Regions from separate parts of the Homo sapiens genome. Here regions 2, 3, 4, 5 and 6 are each linked to region 1. Evidence: promoter capture Hi-C in 16 types of primary human blood cells and fetal thymus (Javierre and others, 2016). All regions are on one chromosome and are shown on one strand. The core of a region is centred on a gene start or on the middle of the fragment in contact, and the rest is flanking DNA. Distances in the headings are between cores, read along the strand shown.

Region 1 (3,713 bases), core at 497-2,996:
GAAGGAAAAGTTGCCACCAGCTTGAGGGGAGGGTCTCCGGAAAGCTGTAAGAAAAAGGCAGACGCGGATTGGTTTTGGTGTAAACGGAGTAAAGAAGAGAGGAATTCCAGGGGGAGGTCAGTGGTCAGGTCTGTGTTTTCTAAAGATCACTCTGGCAACAAGTTGTTACTAGATTGAGGAACAGTGAAAGAATTAATAACAATAATAGTAGAAGCTGATAATAGCTAAGTACTTATTATGTCAGTCCTTGAACTAAGTGCTTGACCTGTTTTATCTCACGTAATCCTTAAAACAACCTGTGAGACAGGAATTATTATTCCCATTTTATAGGGGAAGGCATGGAAGAGTCCGTACTTCCTTCCATGTCTAACAAAACAATTTGTATTCTTGGCCATGAGAACTCGGGTAAGAAAGTGAAACAGACCTGATCTAAATCAGGGACTGTGGGATAGAGAAGAGAGATTTTGGAGAATTAGGGAGGAAGATAACCTATGTTTCTCACAGCCAATGGGCCTCCTAAGTGTTTGAATGATACACCCCATAAACACTAAAACCACCTCTGAGACTCTATTCTGCCTAAAGGACTATGACTTAGATTGAACCTGCCTTGTCATGTAAGCCTAACTCCATGGTAGGAGCCATGTCTTTTGGTTATCACTGTCACATTCTGTCACTCCATCTGGCAAATGGTGCGTACTCAAATTTTATCTGTTGAATGAGAAAATTTTCATCTTGTCATCCAACATTTCTTGGAACCTGGGGCAATACATTGTTTCCCCTCTCCCACACCCACACTTCAGTTTCCCTATCTTTATATTAGAGTAGGTTGAATCTCATTAACTCATTATATGTTAAGATAAATAAGCTGTTATTCAGGTCATTAATTACCTTGGGCAAAGGTAGGGATATCTAGGGGTTAGTGGGAGTGCCAATACTGGGTTAGATGTGGACCCTCTTTTTTTATACGCTCAATCCTATCATCTTGGCAATCCAAGAGGAAAAGGGTAGAAGACAGGTTTCATATTCCTTAAGGCAGTTTCCTTTACTATTTAAAGGTATTGGAGTTCTTGGGATAGAGAGGTAAACGCGCACAGAGATGTCCTCCCCCAGGACACCGCCCTTAAAATCAAACGGAGGAAGACTTTCTTCTCCTTGAATGCGCTTGGCAAACCCTGCCCAGAAAGGGGATGGGGGGACGGCCGTGGAGGTGGAGAAAGAATGCATCCACACCTCGCGCGTCTTCCCAAGTACGGATTGGCAAGTGGTATATGCGTGCAGACCTCTGTCATTTATTTATTTTCCTTTCCACTGGGTGCGCTGTCCCTTTAAATGGAGACGCTGGTGCTGGCTCCGTAACACCGGAGCCGGCAGCTTGTTGATTTCAGAGCTGGTGAATTTCACATTGTTTCCACTTCACTTTCCTCGCCCGGGGGAGGCTCCAGTTGGCTCTACGACCGCCGTTGCCGCTGCCAGAGAGGGCCAGGGCAGGGCAGGGACGCGCAGCATCGGGGCGGGCGTGGGGCCGGAGAAAAGGGTGTCGGGGCCACACACGCACCCTCGCTGCAGTCCAGCTCCTCCCGAAGCTCGCACGCCCAGAGCGCACGGAGCGGGGGACTGCCCGCCCAGACGCCCGCCCGCCAACCCGCCCACGAGCCGGGGCCAAAGCCTGGGAGCCTGCGAGGGGAGGAGGCCCAGGGGGGCGGGGTGGGGGGCGGGGGTGGGTGCCGCGCTGCCGCGGAGCTGCTACTCGGCGCGTTTTGCATGAAGATGGCGGCTCCCACCGCCAACAAGGCAGCCTCCCTGGGCTGTAACAACAAGCCTGCGTTCCCGGAGCTGGATTTCAGGTCGGGAGCTCGGGTGGAGGAATTGAACAAACTCATCCAAGAATTTACGAAGCACGACCAGCGGGAATACGACGACCAGAGAGCGCTGGAGATTCACACAGCCAAGGATTTCATCTTTTCCATGCTGGGTAAGGAGGAAAAAGGGGGAGGTGTGTGTGCGTGTGTGTGTGTGATGGGAAGCGGAGTAGAAAACCCATTGCCGCTTCTCGACCTCTTCCCTTCTGGGTTGCCTTCCCGAGCCGGTGCCTTGGGTATAAGCCATCTCTGTTCCGCCTCTCTCTTCTTTCTCCGCCGAAAGCCGAGCTGCCTGCCCTCCCCTCCTTACTATACTTTACGCCGGGTCTCCCTTTCCCCCTGTTCGCTTGCTCTTTTGTTAATTTCTCCGCCACCTGGGGCTGGCAGGCAGGTGAGGCGTTCGCGGTGAAGCGTTGCACTGTTGGGGGAAGCCCCTGGAAGCGAGTGCAGTCCAGGTGAGCCCCTGAGGTGCCTTCAGTTGAGGGATTTGGCTGCCGGAGGCAGGGACCTCCGCTTTCCCGACGCCGGCTCTTGGGTGCTCTCCCGAGCTTGGGAGCGGAGACGGCTCAGGGCTCTGGCTTGGCGCCCGAGCGACAAGTTGCTTCTGTCGTCTCGCGGCGCGGCGCTGTCATGCCGAGCCCCCGGTGGCCAAACTTGTTGGGTGTTCCCGAGTAACCCGCTGAAGTAGTCTAGGCGTCCGGAGTTCCTGCAACTTTGATTTGCAAATTGACTTCTCTTATGAAGCGATCGGAAGCATTTCCGGTGCTTCTTCAGGGCTCTCGCTGAGCTCGGAATTCTTAATTCCCAGCTCTTCCGTGACTAGGCGCGGAGCTCTGGCCGCAGAGGAGCGCCGGTTCCCTGCTCTTTGTGTATTGTCTTAGCGCTGGCCGAAAGAGGTGCCCAGAGTTTCCAACCGCGGAGACGTCGGGGGCTAGAAAATGTGTCCCCCACTCCCACCTCCAGCCCCTCACCTACGGCTCCTGAAACATGATTGAATGCTGTGTAAAGGAACATAATTGAGCCAGGCCCGGGAGACCGAGCCCACCCTCCCCAGGTGTCCTGCCGTTGGGATTATTGCTACTGAGGTGTAGTGTGAGTTTGCCAGGCGCCTGGGTTGTAACTTGCGGCTCCGCCAGCGGATCCGTGGCTGTCAAGCGGTGCGTGGCCGGCGGTCAACATTCCGAAGAACTGGTACTCCAGGGTAGCGCTGCTCTAACGCTCGTCTCTGGGTGCTCTCTACAAATAGATAAGCCAATTTTCCAGGTGTTGAAAAATTTGATTGGGAAAGGTCTTTTGGCCACAGACTAAGACAGGGCTTTTCTCTTTCTCCTGCAATCTAATTGGGTTTCAGCCGGCTGTTGCTGCTTCTATCCTGGGATACCTTCTTCCTTCTAGGTTTTCTTCTTCCTCACTGCCCAAGGACGGGGTAATACAGACTGAACGTGTCTGTGTCCGCTGGTAGTTGTTCACGCGTTGGGAAGTTAGATGAAACATGTTAAAACTCTAGGCTGGTTTTTACCTTTTGCGCCGCACTCTTCAAGTGTGTCTTACGTTGCGTATGAGGTTGAAAAACTATTGAGAGATTCAGCCGTTCAACTATGTAGATGAATAGATGAATTAAATATATATATATATATATATATAAAACCTGGTAGGAGTGAGCTTCCACAGGGAAGCCTAAAATGCTTACAAAGCCAAAAGCCAACACAGTGATTGTCAGGAAGGTGGGGCCACACACAGAAGGCTGAGCGCAGTTACTTAAGTTGTTTAGTTAATCATAGCCTTTCTCTGTGGCATAAATAATGGAAGTCTGCCATTGTGTTAATACAGCCCCCAGATCAGTTCTGATGTCAC
Region 2 (3,713 bases), core at 1-2,500, 700 kb before region 1:
AGTAACGATATCTCTACTTGGATGTTTTTGTATTTGCTTCTCAGATGTTATCATTTTAAAATCTTCCAAAGAAGTAAAAACTTTAAAAAATCTTTCAAGACTACCTACATGAACAATTCTCTTTTACACTTACCTTTCTAAAATGCTTGTCACTTTCAGATCCACGATCTGTTGCTCTAAACGCCGTTTCTTCCGGAGAACCTTAAAGATAAATATGCAACCCTTTACATTCTCCAGTGATGTCAACAGCCTAAGCTGAATTTCAAATTACATCGAGTCAATGAAAAGGTGAATGGATTTTTAGAGCAACTCAGATTCAAAGAATCAAATCGCCTTTATTCTTATTTTAAGGAACATGACTGATAACCTGTGCAGAAAATAAAAAAAAAACTAACTATAGCAATCGCAGCATATGTTTAACCTAACAATTAAAAATATATAACTGAAAATTACAATAAAAAAATAAGACAATCTTTGGTAAGGATTATTTTACATGAGAGTACTTACAGTTCAGCCACATACCACTGGCATTACAGACCATGTATAGCAGGAAAACAATTTTTTTTTCTTTTCTTTTTTTTTTTGGGGGTGGGGGGCAGAGTCTCCCTCTGTCGCCCAGGCTGGAGTGCAGTGGCGCGATCTTGGCTCACTGCAACCTCCGCCTCCTGGGTTCAAGCAATTCTCCTGCCTCAGCCTCCCGAGTAGCTAGGACTACAGGCGTGTGCCACCACGCCCGGCAAATTTTTTGTATTTTTAGTAGAGATGGGGTTTCACCGTGTTAGCCAGGATGGTCTCGATCTCCTGACCTCATGATCCGCCTGCCTTGGCCTCCCAAAATGCTGGGATTACAGGCATGAGCCACCGCGCCCGGCCGGAAAACAAATTTAAATGTCAACCATGACAGGGCAGATGAGACAAACTAAAATTACTTTTCATTTCAATTATCAAAAACAATTAGATCTATTTCAAGAAAATATTTTTGCTAAGTAAATTTTCTTTTAATAGCTTTAATCTTATAATACACATACATATTTAAGAATTTTAGTGTTATCACAAAATAATTATTTTATTATTTCCACCTAAAGGATAATGAGTTTGCCTAATATAGTTCTGGGGTTTTAAAATTCAGCATAAGCAGCATTATAAATTTGGTCTGCAATTTTATTTGCAACTAGTTTATTAGAAGCATTTAAAAGGCATGTTAAGGTCAGCAAAAATGTCTGTTTACACACCTAACAAGAGAAGTAGGTCAGAAGCTCCTATGACTTCACTAACCAATTTGTGACCTGTGAAAAATCAGCAAAAGGGGAAATAGAAATGTAAAATTTAACAGAAATGAGCAAACAAAGATGTCTGAGATCTCAGATTTCATATTACGATAGGGCAATAATTGGGCAAATATGCCAGGATTAAACTTAATAAATGCTACTCATTATGGTCTATCATACTTAAATTTGTTTTAAAACCACCAAATTGGTCCAACCACTTATGAAAAGCAAATACATAGGAAGTCTCATCTACTTGTCAAGAACAAGTGATACATTTTTTCCCCTCACTAAAAGCCAAGTATGTTTAAGTGCTTAGGAACTGTCATTTTACTGGGCTACACAAAGATTAAAACCATTGTGTAACAAAACTTTGTGTTTATCTTTTTAAAAAATGTCCTGTTTTTCATTGGTACTAAATATTTTAATTTTAAAAAAATGGGAATAAACAAATAATCCATGTATTTTTCCTCCATGGTTCTTAAATTTTTAAATTAGATCAAACAGCTTCTTCCTTACCTGAGGTAAAAAAGTCCTTCAATAAGCTAAGGCTTTCAACAATCTTGTCAAAGTCTGGTGCTAACTTTACAAGGTCTTCTGAACTAGGAAGGGCTTTTCTAATTTTCTCTGGAAAAGATCAAAACATATAGAGTATGAAACTAAGAAAATATGTCAGATACTATTCTTATAAAGGGCTAAAGTATTAACTTGTTTAATCCTCATGACAACCCTACAAAACAGCTACTATTATCAACACCATTTACAGATGAGAAACTAAGGTACACAGCAAGGAAGTGGAGGAGCCCGGGTTCCAGCCCAGGCAGTCCAGCTCCAGAATACAGGCTCTCAGCCACTACGCTGTGGTACTGGCAAATACATCAATTTGAAAGCTCTCCTCATTAATATTAGAAGAACAATTTGAAAGTGTGCTTTTTTTGCAAATGGATTCGTCAACATAGAACAGTTTTATCTTTATAAATTCTGTGAATAAGTGCAAGTATAGATTAATTCCACCTCCACATACACCTAAACTAAGAAATCTGACAAAGGTTTTAAAAAAATTTGATGAAAATATATTTCTTAAAGATCACCATGAATTACTGGCAATCATAGCGATCCAATATACTTTTTTCTCATCCACCTATTGAAAAAGGGAGGGCAGTGGCCAACTAAGAAAAGAAATTACCCTGGATACTAACAGACTTTTAAAGAACTTGGCTACAAAAGGTAGAGATAACCAAGGTATCCAATCAAAAGGAGCTAGCTAGGTGGGTCACAATAAATATGCTCTGGGCAACATTACATAATGCAGAAAATGATATTATTAATAGAAAGGCTACTTGGCAGCATGGAAATGCTGACAAAATATGTTAGGTAGCAAAAGACAAAATACCAAAGTGAATATTCACCATGATTACATAATTTTTAAAAAGGGAACTAAAATACTATTCTGTGGTAGTATTCATGAAAAGAAAAAAATTAAAAGAAAAAAACTCAAGCCAGGCATAGTGGCTCACACTTGTAATCTCAGTGCTTTGAGAGGCTGAGGTGAGAGGTTTGAGCTAAGGAATTTGAGACTAGCCTGGGCAACATAGTGAGACTTCATCTCTACAAGAAATTAAAAAATCAGTCGGGCATGGTGGCACACACATGTAGTCCCGGCTACTTGGGAGGCAGAGTCGGAAGGACTACTTTAGCCAGTTCAGGGCTGCAGTGAGTTATGATTCCAAGACCGCACTTCAGCCTGAGTGACAGAGCAAGATCCTGTCTCAATCGATAAGTTAAAAAGATACTAACCACATATAGTAAGTATAATTAAAAGAAAATGCTCCAAACAGTTAGTGGCAGCTGTGGTAAAATTATGGGCTACTGGGTATTTCTTTTATACAGATTTTTTCATTGATATTCTATTACTTATATCATTAAAATAAAACCGTGATATATTAGGTTCATAAGTTAAGAAACTATCTCAATAAACTATTTCTCTTTCCTCGAGATGACCAAAAAAAGTATTTTAATGTTCATGATACAAACCAAAATCGATATACTCATCAATTTCCCACACAATGTCAGGCACAATCCATTTATATTCACTAAGGTCCGGTATCATATCTTTCCACTGATCAAAAGTCTAAAAGACAAGAAAGTGTGTCAATCAGATGCTCTGCATGCCAAATAAACATGTAAAGAAAAATTATTTAATTAAAACACATTAATCTACTAAGAATAATGTATTATGTTCAAAACTTTTAAGAAACAAAATTAAGTGGTCTCAGCAAACAAGCATATAAAACAAGTTAACACTCCTCTGTTAAATATGGAAAATGTAAAAATTCAGAATATACTCCTATTTCAAACAGGTTTCATAATTTTGCCCTAAATATTACTGTGGGGTAGAAGGAAGACAGACTGGGAGACAGGACGCCTTGCCTCTGGTCCCAGACCTGC
Region 3 (3,713 bases), core at 806-3,305, 660 kb before region 1:
CCAATTTAACCATAAGTAAAACTGGGAACAATAGTGGAAAACACAGAGTGATGTTTAGACTGCCTAACTCTGCCACCAAAAACACTACCTATAGTAAGAATAGGAATATATATATATATATTACAATACATATATATTCCCATTGCAGCAGGTTTGCTTCCAGAACACAGGTGTCATGAAAACCACCCCTAAAAGCCAAAATGGGAAAGAAAAAGACTCATATCAACATTGTCACCATTGGACACGTAGATTCGAGCAGGTCCACCACTACTGGCCATCCAATCTACACACGTGGTGGCATCAAGAAAGAACCACTGAAAAATTTGAGAAGGAGGCTGCTGAGATGGGAAAGAGTGTCTTCAACTATTCCTGGGTATTGGATAAACTGAATGCTGAGTGTGAATGTGATATTACTCACCATTGATACCTCTGTTTGGAAATTTGAGACCAGCAAGTGACTATCGCTGTTGCCTTAGGCCACAGAGACTTTATCAAAAACGTGATTACAGGGACATATCAGGTGGGCTGTGTTGTCCTGATTATTGCTGCTGGTGTTGGCAACTTTGAAGCTGGTATCTCCAAAACCGGACAGACCTGTGATCATGCCCTTCTGCCTTACACACAGGGTGTGAAAAAACTAATTGTTGGAGTTGACAAAATGGATTCCACTGAGCCATCCTACAGTCAGAAGAGATAGGAGGAAATAATTAAGGAAATCAGCATGTACATTAAGAAAACTGGCTACAACCCAGCCACAATAGTATTTGTGTCAGTTTCTGGTTGGAATGGGGAGAATGTGGAGTTCTAATGTCCAAGCATAGGAGAAGATGGGTGTCCAGCTCCTGGGAGGAGAAAGAGGGAGAGGAAGAAAGAGAGAGAGACAGACAGACAGACAGACAGAGGGTATGTTCCTTTCCTCTCCCTTTTTGTTCTGTCCAGGAACTCAGTGACTGGATGGTGCATGCCCACACTGGGTGAGGGCAAATCTCCCTTACTCAGTTACTGCTTCAAAAACCCGTCTCTTTCAGAAACATCCTCATGGATATACCCAGAAGTGATGCTTTACCAACTGTCATGGTGTCTCTTAATCCAGTCAAGTTGACACACAAAATGAATCACCACACTCTCTATAATGGGAGAATGACCTAATTTTATTTTTCATACTGAGAGAACCACCAAAATGGCAGCAGTTGCTTCCCAGAAACCAACTAAGTGAAGGTGTAGAGTTAAAATTAAGTCTATTTAAATAAATGCAATAGATAGATAGATAGATATAGATATAGATATAGATATAGATATAGATATAGATATAGATATTTCTGAGATGGAGTCTCACTCTGTTGCACAGGCTAGAGTGCAATGGTGTGATCTTGGCTCACTGCAACCTCCGTCTCCTCGGTTCAAGTAATGCTCCTGCCTCAGCCTCCCGAGTAGTTGGGATTACAGCACACACCATCATACCTGGCTACTTTTTGTATTTTTAGTAGATACAGGGTTTCACCATGTTGGCCAGGCTGGTCTTGAACTCCTGACCTCAAGTGATCCACCCGCCTCAGCCTCCCAAGTGCTGGGATTATAAGAGTGAGCCACCGCACCTAGCCCAAGAAATGCAATATTTATTATGCACTTGAGTTTGCAGTCTGAAAGTTGAGAATTTACTCCATTAAAACATATTCTCTATTCAGAGAGAATGAAAGAGATTGAAGTGTTTTTAATTTTCAGAACTGTTTCATGGAAGTGTTAATAAAGCCTCACTGTTTGAAAGCACTGGAAGAAAAGGTTATCATGAGATACAGTCTTCTGTATGTTAGATTGCAACATAGAGATCTATTTGATAAAGGGTGGACTTGAAAATGAGTCCTACTTCATCAGCAAAGAAGTCTCCAGAATGACTGTGCTCTTGCACTCACCCTCCTGGTGCCTCAGGACTACAGGTTTAGAGCTTCCAGTTCCACTATAGCACAGTGTAGACAGTATGGTTTCCTAATAAAAAGTTTTCAGCAAAATGTAGTACAAATGCAATGTTAATTGTATACATTGTGTAATACAAATACAAAATACAATGTTCCATTTTGTACTTATATAAGTTCAGAGCAATGTATTCATTTTCTCAAGATCACAAAGTAGGTTCGTGGTATTGTTAGGTGTTCTGTGAGTTTTGAGCTGGATTTTAAAGGATGAATGTGAGATTTAGATAAAGAGAAGGTGAAAAGGCATCTCAGAAGAAAGAATGGTAAGAGTAAAGGTGCAGAAGAAAGAAAACCATTTGCCAAGTATACTTAGGGCTCAATAAGCAAATCATTTGCCTGGATAAGTAGTGGGAGTGACGACTGGAATATAGGTCCAGAACAGATCACAGAGTGCTTTGAATGATGTCAAATTATGTTTGGATTTGTTTTGAAAGCTAATTTATGCATAACTTCTTTGAAGGAAAGCACCATAATCCAAATAGGAAGTTACTCTACCAGTGGATGTGGTGTTGGTTATAGGTGGAAGACTAAAACCAGGAGGCCTCTTAGGAGGGCAATGTATTTATCCAAGTGTATTTTGACTTGGATTACTATTATGGAGTCAACAATGACCCTGAGGTTCTGAGCTTACGTGGCTGAGTTTTCACTCTCTCATGTTAAGGCTGAAAGATATTTATATGTTTTCAAAATGAAACTTTGAGGTCCTGCTTCTTTTTGCTTATTTGGAAGCATCCATTCTATCTTGATTGCTAGAACATTCAGGCTTCCTTTATTCCAGCAGTGTCTGTGCCAGTGGTGGAGGCACCGATATCTTCATGGACGATTCTGTAGAATGCTTTTATGAGTTGTTTTTTTCTGCTTAGCCTCCAGGTCGGGTTCTTCAACCCTTCCAGAGATTCTATGAGCTGCCCAGTATTACCTAATACATTCCTTTTCTGCTCAATTTCCCCAGAGTTAGTTTCTGTTACTTGCAATTAAGAACTTTAACTGATTAGTTTTTCTTATTTGATGCCGTAACCCAGAGGTTAATTAGAATCACCCTCTTCCCAATAATTTACATAAGATTGATTCAAGGCCGGGCGCGGTGGCTCACGCCTGTAATCCCAGCACTCTGGGAGGCCGAGGCGGGTGGATCATGAGGTCAGGAGATCGAGACCATCCTGGCTAACAGGGTGAAACCCCGTCTCTACTAAAAATACAAAAAATTAGCCGGGCGCGGTGGCGGGCGCCTGTAGTCCCAGCTACTCGGGAGGCTGAGGCAGGAGAATGGCGTGAACCCGGGAAGCGGAGCTTGCAGTGAGCCGAGATTGCACCACTGCAGTCCGCAGTCCGGCCTGGGCGACAGAGCGAGACTCCGTCTCAAAAAAAAAAAAAAAAAAAAAAAAAAAAAAAAAGATTGATTCAAGCCACATTCCATGGATCGTGGAAAGTCTAATGTCTTCTTCAAGATTCCTGTACATTCTGCAGGGGGCTTAGGCTCTCATGGACACCTTTGATTCAGATCTTTGGCTTCCTCTAAATCAGGATTCCTCAATCTTGGCACTATTGACATTTTAGGCTGGAAAATTCTTCCTTGCGGATGGCTAGCCTGTGCACTGCAGGATTCTTGACAGCATCCCTGGCTTCTGCCCACTTGGTGCCAGTTGCTGTCCTTCTTCCCTGCCCCATCCCAGTCCCCGTCCCAGTCAAGACAATCAAAAGTGCCTTAGGAAATTACCAGGTATTCCTTGGGGGACAAAATCA
Region 4 (3,713 bases), core at 600-3,099, 640 kb before region 1:
AGTTCAGTGGCACCATCTCAGCTCACTGCAACCTCTGCCTTCTGGGTTCAAGTGATCCTCCTGCCTCAGCCTCCCGAGTAGCTGGGAGTACAGGTGTCTGCCACCACACCCGGCTAATTTTTTGTATTTTTAGTAGAGATGGGGTTTCATCGTGTTAGCCAGGATAGTCTTGAACTCCTGACCTCATCATCTGCACACCTCGACCTCCCAAAGTGCTGGGATTACAGGCTTGAGCCACTGCACCCAGCTGACCAGTATGATTCTATATTTGAAATTGGTTTCACTGTATCTAGGGCCTGGGAGGCAAATGGCAAGGAGAACAGGGAACAGTGGCTAAAATCCCTAGTCTATGGACTCTTTTGTTTAAATATCCACCTATATATTACATCGCACACACAGATATTTCCCATTTTTACAAAAATGCCTGATGAATGCATTTAATAATATAGTGCATTTAATCATATAATAATAGCATTCTATAACAACTTGCAGTTAATGTATCGTGGACATCTTGCTATGACAATAGATCTACTTTATTCTTTTATTTTCCTTTTTATTTTTAAAGTAGTATAAGTACAACATAACCCACACTCATCAAAATGTAGTTTTTTTTTGTTTGTTTGTTTCCACCCCAGGGATTCAGGTTTGCTAGGTCTGGGTTTGGTAGCTCTCCGGGACCAGAGTATGTGGGGTCCAGGAGAGCTTCCAGGGTGACTGACACACACCACTGGTGAGGAACTACTGCTATTCTCTGCCATGTACTCTGGGGTCAATGAGATATGAACAAACAGAGCAACCAACAAAGCTTGCAGCTAGCCAACAGCAAAGCTCCCTGGTGCCAGAGAAAGGCTGGATGAAAGGAGGAGAGGATTGGACTCCATTTCCCGCGGAGGGAGAAGTACAGTGATGATCCCATGGTAGACATAGGTAGTCCGGTTGCGTGTTTCATAGGGGTGTGTAAAAAAGAGGCATGTGAAAAGACAGTGACAGCCCCCAAAGACCTCCATTGGGACAGAGATTAGATTGGAAGCTGGGGGGCTTATTTTAAAGTTACATTTGCATGGTAAGCACAGTTTTATTAAGATTGCTTATTTGAAGTGCTTTGGCAGGGTTGATGGACTGTGGGAGAGCTGAGAAACCTCAGAGATCCCCTCTGATGCCACACTAACTGGGAGAGGGTCTGAGTACTAGGAGGTGCATTAGTTCTATCTTATTACTTTCCTTTTTCCATTAGTAAATAACATTTCCCATTACCAGTTTGCTTAGGACACTGAACGACATGTACAGTACACAAATAAGAGCTCTGAATTTCTTTTGTCATTAATTTCAGTTTCACCCCTCTCTCAAAATATCATTGATTGATCCACTTGAGAGTCTCCTCCCTTTTGTGGAGCATCTTACTTGCTGATGAAAGAGGTAACCAGCATAAATAATCCTAAGTGGACTTTTGGAAGAATGGCAAGCAGAGAGGCCCAGTGGAGCCCCAGCCTTGCCGCTTTCTTCATCTGCACCAGGAACCTGTTCTTGATTTTCCCCAGGGGCCTCAGCCCAGTTCCTGGGTCATCCCAGGCCCACAGCAAGGGCACTGAATCCAGCCCAGCGTTGCTCTCTGCAGCTCAGCACCCAGCCACACTCTTGGTTAGTCTGCCCAGAGGCAGTGCCCTGATTCTGTTAATTGGGCTCTTGCCTCATTCCCAAGCCTGAGGTCCCCTGTGGGTACTACTGTTCCTAAGTTCCTGCCTGGCAGCCTGTCTTGAGCCCCAGATTTTTCCTAGGAGTGAAGAAGCCTTTCCCATGCCAGGCTCCCACTCGGAATTGGAACGCTGCCTCAGGCCCGAGGTTTCTGATTGGAGCTTAGCCACTAGAGGACAGACTCCATGGAGCCAGCTTCCTGTCTGGATTTCCAAGTATCACCTGCCCCATGGCTGGACTCTAACTGCTTGTTGGGAACATTTCTGCTTCTGTCTTATGGCCTTTCTCTCTTTCCCCCTTGGCCAACTGCTCCCCTGAGCTGTAAGCAGAAATTGCTGTGAGCTTCAATTGCCTGGTAGATTAAATTTCCTTTGCAAGCACCTGCAGTGTCATCAGCTCCCCAAGCACAGATTTTCACCCCAGTGGGTGGGCCCAATGCTATGTCCTAAGCCCTCTGGATCATGCCTAAGTAATGGGATGTGCTGTACAATTCAGTGATATGGCCATGGCTTTACACAATTGGTGGGTTCTGGAAAAGTTCTATTGAAATCTATGCTTGGCAAATGAAGTCCTCGTAAATATTCTAGAGATACTGTTTCAAAGTATCCTATTCTAATCCCTTTACAAAAAGTGAGTAGCAGCCGGGCATGGTGGCTGACACCTGTCATCCCAGCACTTTGGGAGACAGAGGTGGGTGGATGGCTTTTGCTCAGGGTTCAAGACCAGCCTGGGCAACATGTTTTTTGTCTTTACAAAAAACAAGAACAAAAATTAGTTGGGCATGGTGGCTCTTGCCTGTAGTCCCAACTGCTTGAGAGGCTGAGGTGGCAGGATCCCTTGGGCCTATGAGATTGAGGGTGCAGTGAACCATGATTGCACCTCTGCACTCCAGTCTGGGTGACAGAGCGAGACCCTGTCTCAAAAAAAAAAAAGTGAGTAGCAATATGATGTTGTGTGAAGTATATCATATATAAGACTTGAGAGTTTTAGCTTTCGCAGATTGTGATCTTGGACAAATCGTTACACAGTCATCCAGTAACTTTTTTCTCACCGAAGAAACAATGAAAGTAACTTAGTAATTTCTAAGGCCCAGTCTAATAGTCTCTGATTGTTAATAATAGCACCATAACTTGTATTGTTTTGTATATTCAAATTTTTAGGTTAAAAGTTCTCAAAATTAAGTACACTGACATGAAGCTTCTGCCTGGGGACCATCTCTTTTGGATTTTGTTTTTATAGGTTGTCCTTAATGACCTGGAATTGTTATAACAGCTGTCAACTGAGGTAAGCTTCACAGAAGGGGAGCTGCCTTACCTCCAGAGAGCAGCTTTTAATTTCCTATTTTTGGAAATAACAGAAAGCAAAGAGGACTCTTCTGAAAGGGAAACAACAGGCCACCCCAAGGCACTGGGAGAACAGACCTGGTGCTGAACGGGGATATTTGAGAGCAAGTCCTCTGAGAAGCAGAGACAGCATCAGCCTGCTCTTTTCTTCTGTAATTAATGGGGAGTCCCTGGATCTTTGTATTAGACCCTTTAATCTAAGGGTTGCTAAATGTTTTACAAACATTAATTAATTCAATTAGACTTTGCACCACCACCTTGAGGCAGGTAATTCCTCTTTGGGATATGGCATCTTTGCTTGCTACCACAGACTATTTTAGAGCAGATTAGGATAATTAATACTAAAGGTAAAGCCTTGAGTTTAGATAAAGTTCTATAACTAAAGGTCTCAAGTACTTTACAAATAGCAGATTTGTGTAATGAGGGCTGAGGAGGAAGACTGAGTCAGCTTATTGCCAGTGATGACAAGGCAGAGATATTGCACTTGTTTCAGGTTCCTCTCCATGGTAAAGACACATGACCTTGAACAGCTCTTTGTGACCTCTTTATGACTCAGTTCCTACAGCTTTCAAATGGGAGCAATGATACTACTCACCTCCCTACTTCACAGAGATGTTGCAAAAAACAATATTTGTAATATGCTGTGAGTTCTCAGATGAAAGATGGAAATTAACATAT
Region 5 (3,713 bases), core at 617-3,116, 580 kb before region 1:
AAAGGGTAAAATGTGGTAGGAATCTTGAGTATCCTGATGATTTAGAGGAGAGATCACCCAGAGTAATTAGGGAGGTTCTCAGGACATAAACTCTGAGCTGGACCCTGAAGGATGGTAGAATCCAGCCATGTAAAGACTTAAGGAGAAGAGAGAAGAATGTGTACTACAGGCTAAGGAAGCAGCAGGAGCAAAGGCATACAGACGGTCTTCTCTTAGGAGGATGAATATAAGAGATTAGCTACAATGATTGTATCTTCCCCTCTCTGCCTTTTGCAGAGTCAGCTAGGGCACTCTTCATAGCAAAAATGGGTGTGGTGGTGGAGACAATTTCCAGCTCTGACCTACATTTCCCAAGCATCAAATTTTTCCCACGTTTGACTTTTTCTGTTATACTTCTTGAATCCTGAGGTTTGTCAGTCATCTGAGTGGGTTTTATGTTTAGTATTTCCCTATTCAGACAATAACCACTGTCAAATAGGTCTCTAAGGGACCATTGTGGTATCTGTTTCTCAATCCTGTGCTTCTCCCTCTAATTTTACTCTGTGTGAAGTAATCAGTGAACTGCAAATGGAAGCAATTTTAATTAGGGTCATGCAATAAGGTGCCTTCTTCAACCCCACCTGTGCTAACATCTTGGCAATTACCTTGGGCAGGTTCAGTCCATGGATTCAGTTTTTTTCTTCCATTCTTCAGACTCTGACTGAGCAGGTCTCAGTGCTCCACATGAATGGGAGATAAGGAACAATAAAACGTGATCCCTGCATTCCAGGTAGTCTAGAAGGACTAGAAAAAGTGATTAAGAGCACAAGAGAGGGACACTTAACATTTTTTTGGAGTTAACAAAGTGATAGTTCCCCCCCCTGCCCCGCCCCGGTGGAAGGGTGTTAATGAGGCTGTTCTGTAGGAGGTGGAATTTGAGTTAAGCCTTGAAAGATGGGGATGGTCATCAGGTCATGGGCTGAAAGGTGGTTGAAAGGTGATGCAGTGAACTAGTTCTTACCTGCGAATGAGCCTCCTGATTCTCAAGCTTTGTTATGTGTCAGTGCCTCATCTTCATATCCAGATTCCTCAGTCAGTGATGACAGGTCTTTTTCCCTCAAGGTTCTAGATCCATCATCTTTCAGAGACAAACCGTTCTGTCTAGAATATTCACTAACGCCAAACACTTACAGAATTATATTAAAATGATGTTTCTCAGGTTGAATTGTAGCCTGCTGACCTCTCTTAACTTCTTGGGGGTTTTGATGTCTATCTCCTCAGGATGAATTCCAAATTTACTCTTGGAAAAAGGTAATATGGATCTACCTGTCAGCATTAAACAGCGCATTTGGTCTCACTCCTGACCACCCTCTCATGACAGATGAGGAGTATATCATAAATAGAGCCATAAGAAAGCCAGACCTAAAGGTAAGTAAACTTATGGCTACTGCTGATGTCAGAGAGATTTAATCTTTTTCCCCTCAAGTATATAGTTAAATGTAGCTCCTCTACTGTGCCAATCCTCATTTGATAGTGTATATTTAAAATGTGAACTTTGGAGCCAGACAGTCCAAATCTCAGCTTGCTCCTTCTAAATAGCGCAACCATTGATCTTAACTCTGCTGAGCCTGTTTTCTCATCTACAAAATGATGATAATAATGTCTATTTCTAATATTAATTGATAAAATTCAATAAATTTAGAAATACAAAGATTAAAGTAGTTCCAGGTATATAGCAGATGCTCAATACATACTCGCTCTATTTTCTTTTCCTTTTGTTAGAGGTAGGATCTCACTATGTTGCCCAGGCTGGAGTGCAGTGGCTATTCACAGGTGCATGATTATAATACACTACAGCCTCAAACTCCTGGGCTCAAGTGATCCTCCTGCCTCAGCCTCCCTAGTAGCTGGGATTGCAGGCATGTACCGCCCAGCCCAGCTCTTACATATTAGCTCTAATAGTATCGTTCCCCATATTACAATCTATGTAACAGGGTTAATCTTATAGTAAAAGTAATCACCCAGGAATATCCCAGGAGGTTTGCTTATGCCTACAAAAATGACCTTATTTGAATTCTTGTCATTCAAATGTATTTGGGTTGCTCCCTCTTCACCCTATTAAATTAGTTCTGCTTGGATTATGACTAGTTAACATTCATATTAAAAACATTTTATAAGACAGAATGTTTTGTCTTACATTTATGTATGTGTGGTCAGCTGTTTAAATTAGTTTTATGAGCTCAAGTTCAGTTATTTAAAGTAATAAAGTAAATTATGAGCAATTTTCCTATTGTCAATTGTTATCACCCAGTTGTCTTTTTTTTTTTTTTTTTAAATGGAGTTTCACTCTTGTTGCCCAGGGTGGAGTGCAATGGCGCTGTCTTGGCTCACTGCAACCTCCACCTCCCGGGTTCAAGCAATTCTCCTGCCTCAGCCTCCAAAGTAGCTGGGAATACAGGCACCTGCTACCACACCCAGCTAATTTTTGTGTTTTCAGTAGAGACGGAATTTCACCATGTTGGCCAGGCTGGTCTTGAACTCCTGACCTCAGGTGATCCACCAACCTCAGCCTCCCAAAGTGCTGGGATTATAGGGGTGTGCCACTGCACCCCACCCACTCAGCTGTCTTAGCTGCCCAAATAAACAAAAACAAAGGAGGTCAAGTACCTCCAAATAATAGTTTCCCTAATCTGTTAGATGTCCATTCACCTGGAGAAATAAGCTTCCCAGATAGCCTATGTTCTCATAGTTTTATTGCTCTGAAATTCTAGCATCTTTAGTAGCATCAAATAAATAAGTGGACAGATAAATGAAGAAATGGCCAAGTCAACACACAGAATTGTAGGAGGGGCAGAGGTCTTGAAATGGAAAGTTGTGATAGGTGTACTATCTTCATTTACCAGCTACGGCATAGGCAGTTTGGTTAGTTACTGCCTCTCTGGTCTTGAGTTTCTTATTTATAAAATAAAAGTAATACCCCTTCTTTGCCTTTCTCAGGGCTGTTATGAACACACAATGAGACGATGGATATTAAGGTCATTTGTGAACTTCAATGAGCTATGCTAGTAACAAAACTTTCCTTAAAGTCAGAGGAGCTGTCATGGGCTCAGCCTTGATGACAATAACAGCATTACCAAGAGGGTAACCATTTAGGGGCATTTAAAGGAGGGGTCCCCAATCCCCAGGCCACCGATTGGTGCCCTGTCCATGGCCTGTTAGGAACCAGGCCACACAGCAGGAGGTGAGCTGCTGGCAAGCCGGCGAGCATTACCTCCTGAGTTCTGCCTCCTGTCAGGTCAGCAGCAGCATGAGATTCTCATAGGAGTGAAATCCTTAATATTGTGAACTGCGCATGTGAGGGATCTAGGTTACGGTGCTCCTTATGAGAATCTAATGATTGCCTGATGATCCGAAACCATCACCGCATCCCCAAGATTCGTGAAAAAATTCTCTTCCACAAAACCGGTCCTTGGTGCCAAAAAAGGTTGGAGATCGCTGGTTTAAAGGAAGTCTGAAGACTACAGCAAAGAACTATGTCAGGTTTGGAAACAGGCTAAGAGGAGATGCTAAGGACCATCTTGCAGGATTACAGGCAAAGCTAACACCCAGTGCTTAACTTGTTAAACAGGATGCTCTTATAACATGTTCTAACAAGAAATTACAAGCAGAAAGCCCGGGGAGAGGAAATCTTCCTTATTCCTGAGCAGAAAGATGAAATTCACCCCGCAGCAGAT
Region 6 (3,713 bases), core at 990-3,489, 540 kb before region 1:
GAGCATCTTGAGAGCAGTCTTGTTCTTATTTAGATTTGCATCCTAAGTGCTGTAGCTCTGTACTAGGCACAAATAGTAGGTGCACAGTAATCGCTCATCTAAAATGAACTCAATATGTTCTGTCTTTTGAATGTTCTTCTTATTCCATTGACACCAAACTATTCATAAAACTTTGGAAACTTTGTTTCTAAAAGTGACTTGTTACATTTAAGGAATAACAATTAATATAATGTTTAGGTAAATGATTCATTTCCCTCCCTTCCTTCCTTCCTTCCTTCCTGCCTTGCTGCCTTCCTGCCTTCCAATCAAAGTTGAATTCCAATGATTAAAACAATTTAAAATAAAAAATGACAAATTTAATTAATAAAATGAAACAAAACAGAATTAATTCTAGGTAAGAAGTGAGCACCTGACTTATAGACTATTCAATACCTTCTTGTTAAAGGTGAGCTCATCTCTGATATTTCTTCCTTTCCAAAAAGCCCTGATTGTTGTGTCAGATACTTTAAGAACTATTAAAGGCTATCAGGGATTGATAACCAGAAATACTCAGATAAAAATGGGTGGACAGGAATGATAGAGAGCTTTATGTATTTGCTGTGCTAAACAGAGTCTGGCCCAATCCTCTCGAATGCAGAATTATACACTCAGAATTACGGACTAGTGACAGTGTACGTCTCATAGTAAAAATAAGATTTTTTTTCTGATCTGTATTTTGCTTTTCAGTGTGCGTTTAAGTTTCTGTGTTAACTGTCCTGCTGGTGGTCTCTTCCTTTTAGATATTTACTAAAATACCATTGGGTATGTGGTAAACCACCAAGATGAGCTGCTCTTTTAAGACATAGTAATAAGTATAACTAACAGGGTCAATATGAAGCCAGGACATTTTTGAACTCTTAGTGTGACAAAAGGAAGCTTGAATGCAAAAGCCAGGAAGCCATGTGGCTGAATTGTGAGTTAACACTGAGATGTGTTTGCTTTCAAAACAAAGGGCTACAGCAACTTAAGGTTATCTTTAAATAAATTCAGGGTCCATATTATCAGAAGTAATTGTCTGTCTTGAAATGTGGTCTCCAGGATCAGACAATGACAAATTTAGGAACTTTTCCAAAAAAGAAGAATAAGGAAGGTGAGAGGGAGGCCTGATCAAGCTGTTATTAGAGGAACAGCCGGAGGTTCCTGTGCGACACCAGAGGGAGAGAGGGTGAAGGGGACGGCAGAGTTGATCCCTAAGTTTGAAAGAAGTTGGCATGTGGAGGAGGGGGAGCAAGTGGACCCTTACTGGCTCCCAGGAGCAGATTCTGCCCCAATGTAGGATGAAGCTTCCACCGTTCAAACGTCCTCCTAATAGGGTAAGCTGCTTTGAGAACCAACGCCTGTGCTGCACATTTGAGAAGGGGCTGTGACTAACCAAGCTGCAGACAACATTCTTCTTGTGACGCCAAAGCTGAACTTAATGGCCTCCACTCTGAATTAGTGAAGGAAGCCTGCATATGACATTTGAGTTGTATTTTAATAGCTTTTTAGATGAGACTATGTTCTTATCTAAAATGAGATGATGGGGATAATGGTTGGGATATGGACACAAGAGGCCAGGGTGGAAGAGGGGGATGCAGTGTTCATTTGAAAAATGTTTTTAGCCGGGCACAGTGGCTCACGCCTGTAATCCCACCATTTTGGGAGGCCGACGCAGGTGGGTTAGCTGAGGTTGGGAGTTCAAGACCAGCCTGGCCAACATGGTGAAACCCCATCCTTGCTAAAAATACAAAAAATTAGCCTGACATGGTGGTGGCTGCCTGTAATTCCAGCTATTCAGGAGGCTGAGGCAGGAGAATCGCTAGAACCTGGGAGGCAGAGGTTGCAATGAATCGAGATCACGCCACTGTCCTCCTCCAGCCTGGGTGACAGAGTGATAGAGTGAGACCCTGTATCCAAAAGAAAAAGAAAAAACTCAGAGACCTTTCTCATACTCAGTGAACTTACTTGGCTGAATGAAGCACTATTAATGTGGGAGGATTGGAGAGTGGCTATTAATGCAACAAAGCATATTAAATTATTTTTTTATAAAGATGTTTGTTCACCTCCAAGATGCTCTGTTTTGGCATGAGGCGATGGAATGGAAACCCATTTCCTTTTCTCCTTAAGCTTTCAGGAAGTTCACAGCTTTGCCTCAGGCCAGGCTTTGCCATGGGGCCCACTGTGTGCAGCGATGGCCAGCTGCCACTCTCTGATCCTTCTTGATGGGACCATCCAGGGAGACCCTCTGGACCTCAAAATGTTTGAAGCCACCACCTGGGTAAGCCTCTGCTCTTCAGAGAATCTGAGAAGCTTCTTCAATGCCAGAGCAACATAGGCAATATCAGAGCTATCTAATTCTTATAAAAGGTGAGGTTTCCAATGTGGAGTACATTTGGTAGTGAAGGGCAAACCAATCTAAGGCTGGTTTCCTCATCTGTGCAATGAAGCTAATAATAGCATCTACATAATGAGATTGTGAGGATTAAATGAGATGATGCAGTAAGAAAATCCTTGGCACTATGCCTGGCAAATATTAAAGGTTCGATCATATTAATATAATTGTACTTATTATGCAGTTATTTCTTGTCTCTCTGTACTGTTCTCCGAGCATTGTCTGGTTTCGAAGATTTTCCAGAATATGGGGATCAGAAAACATTGCTTTCTCCAGTGCTCAGGATAACTCATAGATTCACGGGGACTATAAGTCTTATTTCTATTAATTTCATATTGATTTTATTTCCAAGACTAGAAAGAACAAAAAGGAAAACCACTAAAGAGCTTTTGTTGAGACTCTAAACTAGATTTAAGAGCCAACAGTGTCGTTCAGGAATCTGGCTTTTCCGATTCTAGTTTTGTCTCTGCTCTAACTGACTGCTGAATCCCATTAAGCTATCTCTCATGTTGGGGCTTTGGCTCTCATGACCATAAAATGAAGTTGAATTAGACCAGTGGTGTTCACATAACACAAAACAAGACAAACAATCTGGAATCTTCTCGTAAAAGGAAACGTTCTCCAGAAACACTCTAAAGACTAAATAGCTGGAGTTACTCCAGTTGAAATAAAAGGTGGGATCTAAAGATGAGGACTAAGGGACCTGCATCCCTGACTACTTAGCTATAATCCCTTCCTTTCTCCTGAGCTGCATATAGCTCTCGCCTCTGGTGGCACACTTTGAGCACCACTGAAAGAGACAATCTTCAGGGTCCCTTCCAAATCTCCTGGAGCATTATTTCATAGCAATCTAATATAACTTTGCCAATCCTCCATCTTTTCTGGGTTACTGATTCCATATCTTTAAATAGGGATTGCAGTTTTCTCTCTGGGACCTTGTCAGCCACTCAGTGAGATGATTACAAAGCACTGTGTTGTCTTTGGGTAAAAGGTCCCTTTGACTATAATTTAGGGTCATTATTATAGCAATTACTGATTATTAACCATGTATATCACAGTCTCTGCCCTGCCCTACCCCAGCCCTGAGAACCATCCATCCAAATTAGACACACATGCAAGGGCAGGAAGAGCCGTGAAGTGCAGGAAAAGAACGACAGAAAGGTGCTTGCTTCACACAAAAGAAGTCTGGCCCTTCATGTGCATGGCTTTCAAGCTAGGCTCTTCAGAAATGGAGACTGAGCCTTTACACAGCACATTCCAACAGAGAAAACAAGATAAATTGCATGAATAATTCAAAAGTGTC

The links. Contacts are between HindIII fragments. The CHiCAGO score rates a contact against its expected background, and 5 or more counts as called.
Region 2: a contact is called between a fragment that was not itself captured here and the fragment with the promoter of MB21D2 in region 1, in 3 of 17 cell types (M0 macrophages, monocytes and M1 macrophages). The highest score is 6.3, in M0 macrophages.
Region 3: a fragment that was not itself captured here is called in contact with the fragment with the promoter of MB21D2 in region 1 in 3 of 17 cell types (M1 macrophages, M0 macrophages and monocytes); the score reaches 7.8 in M1 macrophages.
Region 4: a contact is called between a fragment that was not itself captured here and the fragment with the promoter of MB21D2 in region 1, in 3 of 17 cell types (M1 macrophages, M0 macrophages and endothelial precursors). The highest score is 8.4, in M1 macrophages.
Region 5: a fragment that was not itself captured here is called in contact with the fragment with the promoter of MB21D2 in region 1 in 1 of 17 cell types (monocytes); the score reaches 5.9 in monocytes.
Region 6: a fragment that was not itself captured here is called in contact with the fragment with the promoter of MB21D2 in region 1 in 1 of 17 cell types (M0 macrophages); the score reaches 5.9 in M0 macrophages.

Annotation. Positions count from the first base shown.
Region 1 is chr3:192,915,889-192,919,601 of GRCh38, reverse strand. MB21D2 (Mab-21 domain containing 2) reads left to right here and starts at 1,746. Exons shown (of 2, transcript NM_178496.4): 1 at 1,746-1,972. The coding sequence starts at 1,762. RefSeq lists a silencer at 1,441-1,800 and an enhancer at 2,451-2,780. The HindIII fragment of the contact is 3,892 bases long and covers 1-3,713 here.
Region 2 is chr3:193,615,357-193,619,069 of GRCh38, reverse strand. OPA1 (OPA1 mitochondrial dynamin like GTPase) reads right to left here. Exons shown (of 31, transcript NM_130837.3): 3 at 3,300-3,396; 4 at 1,785-1,892; 5 at 1,233-1,286; 6 at 134-201. OPA1-AS1 (OPA1 antisense RNA 1) reads left to right here. Exons shown (of 3, transcript NR_046634.1): 3 at 160-471. Among named protein-coding and RNA genes, the nearest start is that of OPA1-AS1, 10 kb to the left of the region's middle. The HindIII fragment of the contact is 5,969 bases long and covers 1-3,713 here.
Region 3 is chr3:193,575,901-193,579,613 of GRCh38, reverse strand. It overlaps a transcript of ATP13A4 not described here and the pseudogene EEF1A1P23. Among named protein-coding and RNA genes, the nearest start is that of OPA1, 15 kb to the left of the region's middle. The HindIII fragment of the contact is 6,578 bases long and covers 1-3,713 here.
Region 4 is chr3:193,559,126-193,562,838 of GRCh38, reverse strand. It overlaps a transcript of ATP13A4 not described here. Among named protein-coding and RNA genes, the nearest start is that of ATP13A4, 6.1 kb to the right of the region's middle. The HindIII fragment of the contact is 2,084 bases long and covers 808-2,891 here.
Region 5 is chr3:193,500,187-193,503,899 of GRCh38, reverse strand. It overlaps ATP13A4 (ATPase 13A4), which reads left to right. Exons shown (of 30, transcript NM_032279.4): 3 at 1,261-1,407. Among named protein-coding and RNA genes, the nearest start is that of ATP13A4-AS1, 51 kb to the left of the region's middle. The HindIII fragment of the contact is 1,674 bases long and covers 1,030-2,703 here.
Region 6 is chr3:193,457,664-193,461,376 of GRCh38, reverse strand. ATP13A4 (ATPase 13A4) reads left to right here. Exons shown (of 30, transcript NM_032279.4): 14 at 2,146-2,296. Among named protein-coding and RNA genes, the nearest start is that of ATP13A5, 81 kb to the right of the region's middle. The HindIII fragment of the contact is 183 bases long and covers 2,148-2,330 here.